Regions from separate parts of the Homo sapiens genome. Here all the other regions are linked to region 4. The links are contacts of gene promoters, found by promoter capture Hi-C in human tissues and cell types (Jung and others, 2019). All regions are on one chromosome and are shown on one strand. The core of a region is centred on a gene start or on the middle of the fragment in contact, and the rest is flanking DNA. Distances in the headings are between cores, read along the strand shown. Region 1 has its middle 35 kb from the start of NEUROG2-AS1. Region 2 overlaps ZGRF1 (zinc finger GRF-type containing 1). Region 3 overlaps ZGRF1 (zinc finger GRF-type containing 1). Region 4 holds the start of NEUROG2 (neurogenin 2). Region 5 has its middle 60 kb from the start of NEUROG2-AS1.

The links. Contacts are between HindIII fragments. The study calls those that stand out against the background at their distance.
Region 1: a contact is called between a fragment that was not itself captured here and the fragment with the promoter of NEUROG2 in region 4, in 3 of the 25 tissues and cell types used here (aorta, pancreas and thymus).
Region 2: a contact is called between a fragment that was not itself captured here and the fragment with the promoter of NEUROG2 in region 4, in 3 of the 25 tissues and cell types used here (adrenal gland, pancreas and stomach).
Region 3: a contact is called between a fragment that was not itself captured here and the fragment with the promoter of NEUROG2 in region 4, in 4 of the 25 tissues and cell types used here (IMR-90 fibroblasts, bladder, psoas muscle and 1 more).
Region 5: a contact is called between a fragment that was not itself captured here and the fragment with the promoter of NEUROG2 in region 4, in 1 of the 25 tissues and cell types used here (neural progenitor cells).

Annotation. Positions count from the first base shown.
Region 1 is chr4:112,478,685-112,481,384 of GRCh38, forward strand. No RefSeq gene overlaps it. Among named protein-coding and RNA genes, the nearest start is that of NEUROG2-AS1, 35 kb to the right of the region's middle. The HindIII fragment of the contact is 4,196 bases long and covers 1-2,700 here.
Region 2 is chr4:112,570,798-112,573,518 of GRCh38, forward strand. The region is part of intron 16 of ZGRF1 (zinc finger GRF-type containing 1); the gene reads right to left. Among named protein-coding and RNA genes, the nearest start is that of NEUROG2, 56 kb to the left of the region's middle. The HindIII fragment of the contact is 5,551 bases long and covers 1-2,721 here.
Region 3 is chr4:112,550,811-112,553,510 of GRCh38, forward strand. The region is part of intron 22 of ZGRF1 (zinc finger GRF-type containing 1); the gene reads right to left. Among named protein-coding and RNA genes, the nearest start is that of NEUROG2, 36 kb to the left of the region's middle. The HindIII fragment of the contact is 4,769 bases long and covers 1-2,700 here.
Region 4 is chr4:112,514,840-112,517,539 of GRCh38, forward strand. NEUROG2 (neurogenin 2) reads right to left here and starts at 1,341. Exons shown (of 2, transcript NM_024019.4): 1 at 1,008-1,341; 2 at 1-637. The coding sequence starts at 636. NEUROG2-AS1 (NEUROG2 and ZGRF1 antisense RNA 1) reads left to right here and starts at 540. Exons shown (of 4, transcript NR_161159.1): 1 at 540-801. It overlaps LOC124900760 (a long non-coding RNA gene), which reads left to right and starts at 1,966. Exons shown (of 2, transcript XR_007058231.1): 1 at 1,966-2,200. RefSeq lists silencers at 1-172, 433-502, 1,823-2,102 and enhancers at 2,112-2,700, 2,243-2,342, 2,443-2,562. The HindIII fragment of the contact is 15,153 bases long and covers 1-2,700 here.
Region 5 is chr4:112,453,652-112,456,351 of GRCh38, forward strand. It overlaps the pseudogene TOX4P1. Among named protein-coding and RNA genes, the nearest start is that of NEUROG2-AS1, 60 kb to the right of the region's middle. The HindIII fragment of the contact is 7,383 bases long and covers 1-2,700 here.

The DNA of each region.
Region 1 (2,700 bases), core at 65-2,564, 36 kb before region 4:
CAATTTGGCATGTTTTTGCAGTGGCTGGTACCGGTTGTTCCTTTCCATGTTTAGTGCTTCCTTCAGGAGCTCTTTTAGGGCAGGCCTGGTGGTGACAAAATCTCTCAGAATTTGCTTGTCTGTGAAGGATTTTATTTCTCCTTCACTTATGAAGCTTAGTTTGGCTGGATATGAAATTCTGGGTTGAAAATTTTTTTCTTTAAGAATGTTGAATATTGGCCCCCACTCTCTTCTGGCTTGTTGAGTTTCTGCCGAGAGATCCGCTGTTAGTCTGATGGGCTTCCCTTTGTGGGTAACCCAACCTTTCTCTTTGGCCGCCCTTAACATTTTTTCCTTCATTTCAACTTTGGTGAATCTGACAATTATGTGTCTTGGAGTTGCTCTTCTTGGGGATATCTTTGTGGTGTTCTCTGTATTTCCTGAATTTGAATGTTGGCCTGCCTTGCTAGATTGGGGAAGTTTTCCTGGATAATATCCTGCAGAGTGTTTTCCAACTTGGTTCCATTCTCCCTGTCACTTTCAGGTACACCAATCAGACATAGATTTGGTCTTTTCACATAGTCCCATATTTCTTGGAGGCTTGGTTCATTTCTTTCTACTCTTTTTTCTCTAAACTTCTCTTCTCGCTTCATTTCATTCATTTGATCTTCAATCACTGATACCCTTTCTTCCAGTTGATCGAATCAGCTACTGAAGCTTGTGCATTCGTCACGTAGTTCTCGTTCCATGTTTTTCAGCTCCATCAGGTCATTTAAGGACTTCTCTACACTGGTCATTCTAGTTAGCCATTCATCTAATCTTTTTTCAAGGTTTTTAGCTTCTTTGCGATGGGTTCGAACTTCCTCCTTTAGCTCGGAGAAGTTTGAGGTCTGAAGCCTCTCTCAACTCGTCAAAGTCATTCTCCGTCCAGCTTTGTTCCGTTGCTGGTGAGGATCTGTGTTCCTTTGGAGGGGGAGAGGTGCTCTGATTTTTAGAATTTTCAGCTTTTCTGCTCTGTTTTTTCCCCATATTTGTGGTTTTATCTACCTTTGGTCTTTGAAGATGGTGACGTACAGATAGGGTTTTCGTGTGGATGTCCTTTCTGTTTGTTAGTTTTCCTTTTAATAGTCAGGACCCTCAGCTGCAGGTCTGTTGGAGTTTGCTAGAGGTCTACTCCAGACCTGTTTGCCTGGGTATTAGCAGCAGAGGCTGCAGAACAGCGAATATCGCTGAACAGCAAATGTTGCTGCCTGATTGTTCCTCTGGAAGCTTCGTCTCAGAGGGGTACCCGGCCATGTGAGGTGTCAGTCTGCCCCTACTTGGGGGTGCCTCCCAGTTAGGCTACTCAGTGGTCAGTGGCCCACTTGAGGAGGCAGTCTGTCCATTCTCAGATCTCAAACTCCGTGGTAAGAGAACCACTACTCACATCAAAGCTGTCAGACAGGGACATTTAAGTCTGCAGTGGTTTCTGCTGCCTTTTGTTCAGCTATGCCCTGCCCCCAGAGGTGGAGTGTACAGAGGCAGGCCGGCCTCCTTTCGCTGCAGTTGGGTTCCACCCAGTTCGAGCTTCCTGCTACTTTGTTTACCTACTCAAGCCTCAGCAATGGTGGGCACCCCTCCCCCAGCCTCACTGTCACCTTGCAGTTCAATCTCAGACTGCTGTGCTAGCAACGAGCGAGGCTCCGTGGGCATGGGACCTTGCAAGCCATGTGCGGGATATAATCTCCTGGTGCGCCGTTTGCTAAGACCATCAGAAAAGCGCAGTATTAGGGTGGGAGTGACCTGACTTTCCAGGTGCCATCTGTCACAGCTTCCCTTGGCTAGGAAAAGGAATTCCGTGGCCTCTTGCACTTCCTGGGCGAGGCGATGCCTCGCCCTGCTTCGGCTCATGCTTGGTGGGCTGCACCCACTGTCTGACAAGCTCCAGTGAGATGAACCCGGTACCTCAGTTGGAAATGCAGAAATCAACTGTCTTCTGCGTTGCTCATGCTGGGAGCTGCACACTGGAGCTGTTCCTATTTGGCCATCTTGGAACCACCTAAAAATATTTTTTAAATAAAAGTATTTTATATTTTCCCAAGTGTTTATCATTTCTGGCACTCTTCATTTCTTTTTATAGATTCATATGTCCATCTTGTATCATTTTCATTCTGCCTTGAAAGGCTTTCTTTCGAGGAAGGAGTTATCTGCTGCCAATGAATTATCTTGGCTTTTAAATGTTTATATAAGTCCTTATTTGAATTTCATTTCTAAAGGATATTTTTGCTGGGTATAGAATTTTAGGTGGAGTTTTTTAAAATATGTCATTCCATATTAAAGATGTTTGGACGCATTATTTCTGAAGAGAAGTCTGTTGTCTTTCTCACTTTTGTTTCTCCAACTATTTTTTTCTCTCACTACTTAAAAACCTTATTATCTTTTATCACTGATTTTTAGAAATTTGATCATTTTGTATACCACAGCATACTTTTATATATATATATGTTTTTTTGCTTCAGATTTGTTGAACTACTGGGATGGTTGGTTTCATAGATTTCATCAAATTTATGGTCATTAGTGCTATAATATTTTTTCTTTCTCTCCATCTTTTATGTGGACTGCAAATCATACATGCTTGGTTTCCTGATATTGTCTTATCACTCACTATTACTGCTGCTTTTCTGTGTATTCGTTTCGAAAGTGTCTTCAAGTTTATTAATTGTTTTCTTCTATGCCATATCA
Region 2 (2,721 bases), core at 54-2,553, 56 kb after region 4:
TACTTCAGCAAAAATAGAGTGGTAGGCCAGGCATGGAGGCTCACATCTGTAAACTCAACACTTTGGGAGCCCAGGCACGCAGATCACTTGAGGTGAGGAGTTCAAGACCAACCTGGCCACCATGGTGAAACCCTGTCTCTACTAAAAATACAAAAAGTTAGCTGGGTGTGGTGGTAGGTGCCTGTAGTCCCAGCTACTCGGGAAGCTGAGGCAGGAGAATCACTTGAACCCAGGAGGTGGAGGTTGCAGTGAGCCAAGATTGTGCCACTGCACTCAGCCTGGGCAACAGAGCCAGACTGCATTTCAAAAAAAAAAAAAAAGAGTGGTACTTTAAGGAAAACTTACAGCCCTAATAATTATATTAGAGAAGAGAAAAGCCTCAAAATTAGCTAAGTATCAAGCTTAAGATGTGTAAAAAGAACAGTATACTATCCTAAACAAAATAGAAGAAATCATAAAAATTAGAGAGGAAGCCAATAACAACAATAAAAACAAAACAAAAATACATTGCTGATCTTCTGATCAATAAAGCCAAGTCAGTTCTTCGAAAACAATAACAAAATAAGACAAACCTCAGGCAAGACTGGTCAGAAGAATAAAAACACAAACAATACAATGGTATCAGAGAATATGAATAAATTTAAGATAAAAATATTCAAAACTTCTACAGGGAAATTTGCAAAACTTTATTATAAGATGTTACAAACAATTTTTAAATAAACAGAGATACAGCAAGTACATGGTATTAAATCTTAATTTTTTTTTTTTCTGAGACAAGGTCTCACTATGTTGCCCAGGCTGGTCTCCAAACTCCTGAGCTCAAGCTATCCTCCTGTCTTGGCCTCCCAAAGTGTCGGGATTACAGGCGTGAGCCACCATGCTCAGCCCTAAATCTTGGTATTTTAAAGATGTCATCCCTTCTCAACTTTATAGGTACAATTCCAATTAAGATCCCAACAAGTTTTTCATGAAACTTGATAAGATGATTCTAAAATATATATGAAAGAGTAAAGGACCAAGAACAGCCAGGTCACATCTAAGAACAGAGAGGGGAACTTGCACTATTTGATATTTGGATTTATGAAGCCATGGTAATTAAGGCAGTGTGGAACTGGTACAACAATATACAAATTAACCTACAGTATAAAATAGGGAGTCAAGAACACACACAGCTACTTTAAACCTGATTATATGACAGAGGTAGCATTTCAGATCAGTGAGGAAAAGAGAGACTAATCAATAAAAAATGGTTACTATTCTAGCAAAATTGGTAATTAAAAAGAAAAAGATGAAACTGGATCCCTACTTCATACCATATACAAAAGAAAAAAGAATCAACTTCAAGTGGACTGAAGATTTAAATCTCATAGCCACCAAAACAGCATGGTACTGGTATAAAAACAGGCACACAAACCAATAGAACAGAATAGAGAGCCCAGAAATAAAGCCAAATACTTAGAGCCAACTGATCTTTGACAAAACAAACAAAAACATAAAGTGGAGAAAAAACACCCTATTCAACAAATGGTGCTGGGATAACTAGCAAGCCACATGTGGAGGAATGAAATTGGATCCTCATCTCTCACCTTATACAAAATTCAACTAAACATGGATCGAGGATTTAAATCTAAGACCTGAAACCATAAAAATTCTAGAACATCAGAAAAACCCTTCTGACTTTGGCTTAGGCTAAGACTTCATGACCAAAAACCCAAAAGCAAATACAATAAAAACAAAGCTAAATAAGTGGAACTTAATTAAACTATTAGTAAAAAGCTTCTGCACAGCAAAATTAACAATCATCAGGGTAAACAGACAACCCACAGAGTGGGAGAAAATATTCACAATCTATACATCTGACAAACGATTAACACTCAGAATCTACAAGGAACTCAAACAAATCAGCAAGAAAAAAACCAAATGATCCCATCAAAAAGTGGGCTAAGGACATGAATAGACAATTCTCAAAAGAAGATACACAAATGGCCAACAAACATGAAAAAATGCTCAACATCCCTAATGATCAGGGAAATGCAAATCAAAACCACAAGGCAATACTGCCTTAATCCTGCAAGAATGGCCATAATCAAAAAATCAAAATTAATAGATGTTGGCAGGGATGAAAGGGAACACTTTTACACTGCTAGTGGAAATGTAATCTAGTACAACCAGTGGAAAACAGTGTGGAGATTCCTTAAAGAACTAAAAGTAGAACTACCATTTGATCCAACAATCCCACTACTGGGTATCTATTCAGAGGAAAACACAAAAAAGATACTTACACGTTTATAGCAGCACAATTCCCAATTACAAAAATATGGAACCAGCCCAAATGCCTATCAATCAACAAGTGGATAAAGAAATTGTGATACACACACACACACACACACACACACACACACACCCATGGAATACTATTCAGCCATAAAAAGAAACGAATAATGGCATTTGCAACAACCTGGATGGAACTGGAGACCACTATTCTAAGTGAAGTAACTCAGGAATGGAAAAATCAAACATCGTATGTTCTTACTCATAAGTGGGAGCTAAGTTATGAGGGTACAAAGGCATAATAATAATACAATGGACTTTGGGGACTCAGGGGAAAGGGTAAGGGGGGCAGTGAAGGATAAAAAGACTACAAATTTGATACGGTGTATACTGATCAGGTGATAGGTGTAGCAAAATCTCAGAAATCACTACTAAAGAGCTTATTCACGT
Region 3 (2,700 bases), core at 88-2,587, 36 kb after region 4:
AACTGCACTCCAGCCTGGACAGAGCAAGATTCTATCTCAAAAAAATTAAAAATTTTTTTAGAAGTCTACAGTAGTGTACAGTAATGTCCTAGGCTTCCACATTCACTCACCACCCACTCACTGACTCAGCCACAGTGACTTCCAGTCCTGCAAGCTCCATTCATGGTCAGTTAACTATAAAGTTAACTATTAAAAAGCTATAGTATATATAGTTTTCTGAGGACTTCTACAACCAAAACTTTGTGGTTATTATTTCCAATTTCTCCTTCCCTCCCTCCCTATACAGGTGTACCATTTTAAATATTTTATACCATATTTTCACAGTACATTTTCTGTTTAGATACAGAAATACCACCATGTTACAATTAAATGCCTACAGTATTCAGTACATGCTGTATAGATTTGTAGCTGAGGAGCAATAGGCTATACTATGTAGCCTAGTGTGTAGTAGGCTATACCATCTAGGTTTGTGTAAGTACACTATGACGTTCACACAATGACAAAATTGTAAAACAATACATTTCTCAGAATGATATATGACTGTACTTATTCTCTTCTAACAATCTGAAGATCTATAAAATTACACTTCTTGATAGCAAGGGCAGTTCATACCAACTGACCATACCTTTTTTCAACAAACTAACAAAAAATATGCTTTACAAATTAAATACTGCCTCCACAGATCCTACAAAATAAGAAAACATTACAACTGCCTTATTTTAATAATAAATAATATTCACCACACACAATAGCCCTGTATCAGTTAGGTTTTCTTCTTTTGTTAAAAACAAAAACAAAAATCTTAAAGCCACATTTATATCAGAAATTCCACAGTATTTAAATATTGAGTTCTTTAAAAATGATCAAGCTTTGGTGCCACTCTGAAATATTATTCATTTTATTTAATTTCTGGCAACTATATCTACAAAACAATCTTAGAATGAGAACTCTAAAGTTATGTGTCAAGAAGCATTTTTTAAATTTAAAGAAATATCTAATACAAAAACCTAAAGTATTAAGTTTTCTTTAAAAAATTATGTTATCTTTTTATTTATTATTATGTTGCTGAGATTCTAACAGCAGAAAAGATTTTGTTACTGACCTAGCAAGTATTAATTAACTATGAAGCATTTTTAAAAATTAGTTTTATTGTGAAGACATGCCACTTTAGAAATGAGTCAGGTCTTCCGGGCGCGGTGGCTCATGCCTGTAATCCCAGCACTTTGGGAGGCAGAGGTGGGAGGATCACTTAAGGTCAGGAGTTTGAGACCAGCCTGGCCAACACTGTGAAACCCTGTCTCTACTAAAAATACAAAAATTAGCCGGGTGCGGTGGAATGTGCCTGTAGTCCCAGCTACTCAGGATGCTGAGGCAGGAGAATTGCTTGAACCAAGAGGTGGAGGTTGCAGTGAGCTGAGACTGCGCCACTGCACTCCAGCCTGGGTGACAGAGCGAGACTCTGGCTCAAAAAAAAAAAAAAAGAAAGAAAGAAATGTGTCAGGTCCGAATGCCTGGCTGGACCTTAGAAATATGTCAGAGAAAATTTCTAAAAAATAATTCCTCTAAAATAGTTTTCATTTGTGAATAGGTGATACAAATGAGCAATAGATCATAGTAACTGGGCTTTCATTCAGAAAATCATCCAAGAAATCATTAACAATGATATATATGAATAATGATTCTTATATATCATTGTTACGTTGGGTGAGTAAAATGATAAGTAGTTTACATAAATGACTAATTTGTATTAATTGAACACAGCCAAACTAAGCCTTTCTGGATTTGGTTAAGAAGAGAGTATAGAGTTAACTCTATAATTCAAATAACAGAAAGTTAGTCTGAAGTTTTCTGAGGACTTCCAGAACCAAAACTTGTTATAGATTGGTTATTATTTTCAGTTTCTCCTTCCCGCCCTAGGAAAGTATTATTACATATCCACACCCTTTGCCATGTTACTTGGCAGTGCTTCCCACCAGAGAAGTAGGGGAGTATATTTCCCTGCCTCACTGATGTTAGGCTTGGCCGTGTGACCTGTGCAAATGGAATGTCAGCAAACATAATATGAACTGAAGCTTTAAATGTGTTTCTGTGATCTGTCCTGCCCTCTTGCACTTCTGCCATCTGTTAGAAGATCATGCCATAGCAACTGTTCTCAGAATAAGAGACTTTACCCATAGCCTCAAGCCAAGCCACACCACTTGACCTGTAGAGTCATAAGCTGTTGTCTTAAAGTACTGAGACTGAGTTTGTTAACCCTCATTATTTCAGCAATAGCTGATCAATACAGTGTCCCAAGTAGACTCATTTTCTCAACTCTCTAGCAGAAAGTTACCAATGTGCAAGTGGCCCAAGAAGCCAACAACTTTCTTTTACTCCATCCCCATTGCTTTTCCCCATGCTCTCCTTTCATAGGAGGAAGCTGCTGATTGATTTTTTCTCTTCCAACAGCTGATGCCCAGGCTTCCCTAGATCAAAACTTGATAAAGGAGATAGTGCTACCTGTTACAGCCTGGAATCTTGTGTGCTTAGTCTTGGCTTCCAATACCTGGAAGCTAGCGTCTGAGCCTCCTGGATTCTTGGATATATACAAACACTAAAAGTCTTGGCTTTCTTGGAGAGCATCAAACACAAATTTCATTTGGATATTTTACTCAGGGTCAGATCCTCTCCATCACTGTTTCTCCTAGAATACAACTAATT
Region 4 (2,700 bases), core at 91-2,590:
GGAGGCGGGCGAGGGGCTGTCTCCGCTGCTGCTCAGGGCGGCGCTGGCTCCTCCCGGGCTCAGCAACACTGCCTCGGAGAAGAGCGCCCCCGGCAGGCCCCCGCCGCCGCCCCCGCAGTGATCCGCCAGGCGCAGGGTCTCGGTGAGTGCCCAGATGTAGTTGTGGGCGAAGCGCAGGGTCTCGATCTTGGTGAGCTTGGCGTCCTCGGGGAACGTGGGGAGCACCTCGCGCAGCGCGTCCAGTGCCGCGTTGAGGTTGTGCATGCGGTTTCGCTCGCGGTTGTTGGCCTTCAGTCTACGGGTCTTCTTGATGCGCTGCACCGTCTCGGCCGTCTTGGCGCCTCGGGAGACGGCCCGCGCCCGGGAAGGGCGCCGTTTGCAATCGTGTACCAGACCCAGCAGCCGTGCGGGCCGGCAGCCCTCCGCACCCGCAGCCACGCCGCCCCGCGCCCCCTGCCCGGCCTCAGCCCCGCGCTGCCGACGCGCCCCGCCTGACGCGCCCGGCTCCTCCTCCTCTTCTTCGTCGGCGCTGGATGACAGCGGGGTCAGGGCCGCCAAGGCGGGGGAGGCCGATCCGAGCAGCACTAACACGTCCTCTTCCTCCTTCAACTCCAAGGTCTCGGATTTGACGAACATCCTACCGAAGAGAGAAAGGGGAAAAAGGCAGTGAGGTGTAAGGAAAGAAACAGAGGCGCGATCTTCGTGTCACAGGGGCGTGCTCCGGCGCGCACCCGAGAAGACCAGCTCCGAATGGCGCGGAGCAGGAAGGCGAAGGAAGAAACCCAGGCAGTGCTAACCAAGGTCAGGAGCGCCGCTAGCGCTCGCTGTGACCCTGCTGCCAGTCAGCCGGGTCCTGCCCTCCGCGGGCGGTCCTGCGTTCCCTCCCCGAGAAGGGACTGCGGCCTCCGCGACAAAGATTCTGCGCGGAGCAGAGGGCGTGCGGGTGTGGTTGGACTGAGTGCGGGGAAACCACCTGCGTAGTTGGAAGCGGTGGCTCGAATACTTACTTAGTTGGCTCTAACTGTGCCTCAGCGTTGCTGTGACTTTGGCCTGTGCCGGGAATCTCCGCGCAGCTGCGAGCGCAGCGCCGGGTCCTTCGCCCGGCGTGAAAGCTGCAAGCCCGGCGCTACTGTGGCGCAGCTCCGCGGGGGACCTCTGCGACCGGCGAGTTTGCCAAGAGCCCCGGCGGCGGCGGCGGCGGCCCGCCCGGGTCTCGTGTGTTGTGGTGGTGGTGCGTGTCTGTCTGTCAGTCAGTCCCTGGCCGTGCGGCTCCTGGCACGCGACTCCCAGGCACTCCAGTTAACGCGAAGCTGCTTGTGGTTCAGTGGCTGCGTGTCTGGCACACGACTCTCCTTAAAACCCCTTATATACCACCAAGAAAACAATCAGATCTGCCCCGGGCCCCCTCCTCCCCCGCCACCGCCTCCTCCTCCTGTCAGTCCTGCCCCCCTTCTCCCCCGCTTTTCCCTCCTCTGGCTTATTCTTTTCATTGCATTATCATCATTCATTTCTTCCTCTTTCTTCACCGCCTTTCCCCCTCCCTTGGCCCTGCCATCCATCCTCCTCCTCCCACCACCCCCGCCTCTCTTTTCCCCCTTTATCTAATCAACATAAAATGGTTCTAAAGCTCCTGTTGGAGCTCCGGGCTGCGGCCGGAGCTGGCGAAGCCGCAGCGGCCGCAGAGGCTCAAGCTGCGGCTGTTGTCGCCGCCGCTGTCCATTGTGATTGGTGGCTCGCGCTCGGCTGGAGCGTGCCGCTAATTTATTAATGAATGGAGGTCGCGAGGCGCAGCTGGCCAATCAGGGCGCCCTGGACTCCGGGAGGCCTGCGAGCCACGCGCACCGGAGCCCGCTCCCTTTCAGCAGCTCATTAGGGGCCCGAGCGCTGGGGGCGGATGGGGGGACCCGTGCTACCGCCCCCGCCTTCGTCCTCGCTGCCGCCGAGGCTCCCCCCGCCCGGCGCGCGCGCAGGCACCGCACCCGGCGCTGCCGGCCCTCCTAACTCCCGGGTGATGGGAACTAGGAATTAGTTAATGGGGGTCAGAATCCCGGGGAAAGCAGTTAGCCCTGTGGTGCTGCCGGGCGTCTCTTGGCAAAGCCTCTTAGGGGTTGTATCAAATAGTAAACGATTTTAAAATGGATTCATTTGGTTAGGGGAGGAGAATGGCGTGGATGGAGAGATGTGGACACCTCGTGAACAAGTGTGTTTGGGGTCCGTCGAAACTGGCGTGGGAGAGTGAAGGGAGAGGACACTGGGGATTCAAACAGGCGTCTCTTGGGAGGGGAGGTCGGATAGGGGAGCAGTTGATGAGCTTTTAGAGGATGTGAGAATGAAATCACTCACATGTTAGAGCTGAAAGGATCCCCCTCATTTTACATACAGGAAACTGAGGCTCCGGGCACTGATGCAGGTTTTGCTGGGGTTAACCCAGTTTATAGCCTGGAGGGACAGCAAGGAGGCTTCCTGCGTGGGTGGCAGCGAACCGAGCGGGAGGAGCGGCAGAGCTGCTGCTCCTGCAAGCAAATGCGCTGCGCTGACATTTCTGTGACCTCTGCTCCGCGCTGGGGGGCGTTGTAGGGACAAGGGGCCCATCTTCCCAATTCTGCTTTTCAATGAGAAAAAAGAGCTGAAGGGCTACTGGACCTCGGGGGAAACTTGTTCTCAATTGCTCGTTAGCCCTCCCCACTTTCCCCACGTTCA
Region 5 (2,700 bases), core at 20-2,519, 61 kb before region 4:
GTCTCAGTGAAAAAGTAAAAATGCTTGAGTGCTCCATCACTTAGGGAGATTGAGCCCATCTTCTTTTCCATGATTTTTATTTTAGTGCTTATTTAATTAAGAAAATTAAATCATTTTTGTGGTACACGAATAAAATTGGTGAAAATTATGGTTACCAGTATTTTATTACTGTTGATTTTTATCGCTCTTATATATCTGTAAACCAGATAATGCCGGAGAAATTGATTGCCATCTGTTCTTAGACTCTAGGAATAGGGCATCATTATCTCTAGGAGTACTCTACTACTATGTGACCCAAATGTACTGGTAATCCAATTTTTTAAGATCAGTAAATGTTTTTAACCTATATTATATGCATTATTACATGATATGCTTCAGATAAAGCATGAATTACTTTTAAAACAAGTGATAAAGAGGGCCTAATTTACTGGTTCTGGCTCAGAAACCAGGTGTTTTAAGTGCATTGAGTTTCATGAATTAAAGAGTGTGTTTCCTCCTTTATCCAGAGCTGCTAAGGATTATTGAGACTCCAAGATTAAAGGCACATCATGAAACTAAAACAGGCATTTAAACTTCCTGTGCCAAAATGCTGCCTTTGTTTCCCATCTCTTTCCTGATTAATCTCAGGACCATTCTTCATTACTACTACCCAAAGGTTAAAAGACGATTAATAGTATCAACTTCAAAACTTTTGTGAGAATTAGAGCACATGTAACCTTGCTAGGACGGTGCCTGGCAAAGAGTAAATGTTTCATCAATGGTTGTTGTTGCTATTTTTTTATCATTATTTATTCACCATATTTTCATCCTTTAAACCAAAGCAGAGTTAGAGTTAGCAATATTAGTTGTGTTTTCCACTTGAGCTAAGGTTAATTCCTAGATGAATGCCAGTTGCTTTAATTTTCACTGATAGAATCTGCTTTCTGTATCGTTAACCTCCACACTTGAGTATTCAAGTTTTGTTTCATAGTGTTGCCTCCATGCTTTCTGTGATCGGTCTCTGCTATAAGTCCACTCAACATCATTAACCTTTCATCCTGATTATGAAAATGTGGTTTTCCAAACGTATTTGACTCTGATAACACATGGTCACAAAATTATTTACATTAAGGGTTGCAGCCTCACACAGCTCCAGAGAGTCCCATTCACTTGAAATCAACATGCATTAGTCATCTATTGCTGCCTAATAAATTATCACAAATTTAGCAGCTTAAAACAATACCTGTTTGTTATCTGACAGTTCCATAGGTCAGAAATCCTGGATGGTATGACTGGCACCTCAGCTCAGGGTATCACAGGCCTAAAAGCAATCTGTCAGCTGGCTGTGTTCTCTTCTGGAGCTTGGGATCATCTTCCAATCTCATTCCTGATGTTGGTAAAATTCAGTTCCTTGTGGTTGTAGAACTGAGGTGGCTGTTTCCTTGTTGGCTGTTAGCTGGGTTTGTCTCAGTTACTTGTAGCCACTCTGTGGTCCTTGTATGGAACCCCTCCAGCATCAAGGCCAACAACAGCACACTAAATCCTTCTCATGCTTCAAATTTCTCTGACTTCTCCTGCTTCCAGTCATAGAAAACTTTCTGCTTTAAAAGGGGTCAGCTAATTGAGTCAGGCCCACCTGGATAATCCCCATATTTTAAAGTTAACTGACTTTCAACCAGGCATGGTGGCTCACACATGTAATCCTAGTACTTTGGGAGGCTGAGACGGGCAGATCCCTTGAGGTCAGGAGTTCAAGCCCAGCCTTGGCAACATGGTGAAACCTCGTCTCTACTAGAAATACAAAAATTAGCCAGGAGTGGTGGCTCACGCCTGTAATCCCAGCTACTTGAGAGGCTGAGGCATGAGAATCACTTGAACCCAGGAGGCTGAGGTTGCAGTGAGCTGAGATCGCACTACTGCACTCCAGCCTGGGCAACAGAGACTCTGTCTTAATTAATTAATTAATACTTATTAATTTATTAATTAATTAAGTTAACTGACTTGGGACTTTACAGCAGTGCCTGTATTACTGTTTGAACAACCAACAGATAAGAATCTTGGGGGAGGGCATCTTTAGAGTGTTGCCTACCACATAATGTGAGTTTGGTGCGCTCCTGGTTCTGAGATGCTGGGTTTCACACACATTTTAAGGTTTTTAGATGCAAGGAACACAGGCTTGTTTAAGGAAAGTTAAATAGGATACACATGATACAAGAAGTGGTCTCACAGTTCCGAGTCCAGTGGGGCGGTGGGAGCGATGACAGTCTGAGATGGTAGGAGCAGTTGTGTGAAGATGGAGTCTCCCGGAGGAAATGACAATTACCTGACAATCACAGGGCCGTCACACCTCTTCCTGTCAGGGGCCGAGACATTCCATACACCAAGCTTAGGTGATGAAGAATTTGAAATCCCACCTATCTCTTTGGATTCTGATCCCTCATTGGCTGTCTCAGATGTGGTTGACCACTTTGATGACCTGGCAGACCCTTCCTCTTCACAGGATGGCAGTGCTTCAGCCCAGTATGGGGTCCAGACATTGGACATGCTCTGTGGGCATGACCCATGGCTTGATGGAGCAAGGTGGGGGCTCCTCAGTGGAGGCTTGATCATGGACTTAAACCACTCTATAGGAACTCAGTATAGTGCCAACCCACCTGTTACAATTGATGTACTAATGATAGACATGACATCTGACTTGATGGGGCATAGCCAGTTGACCAC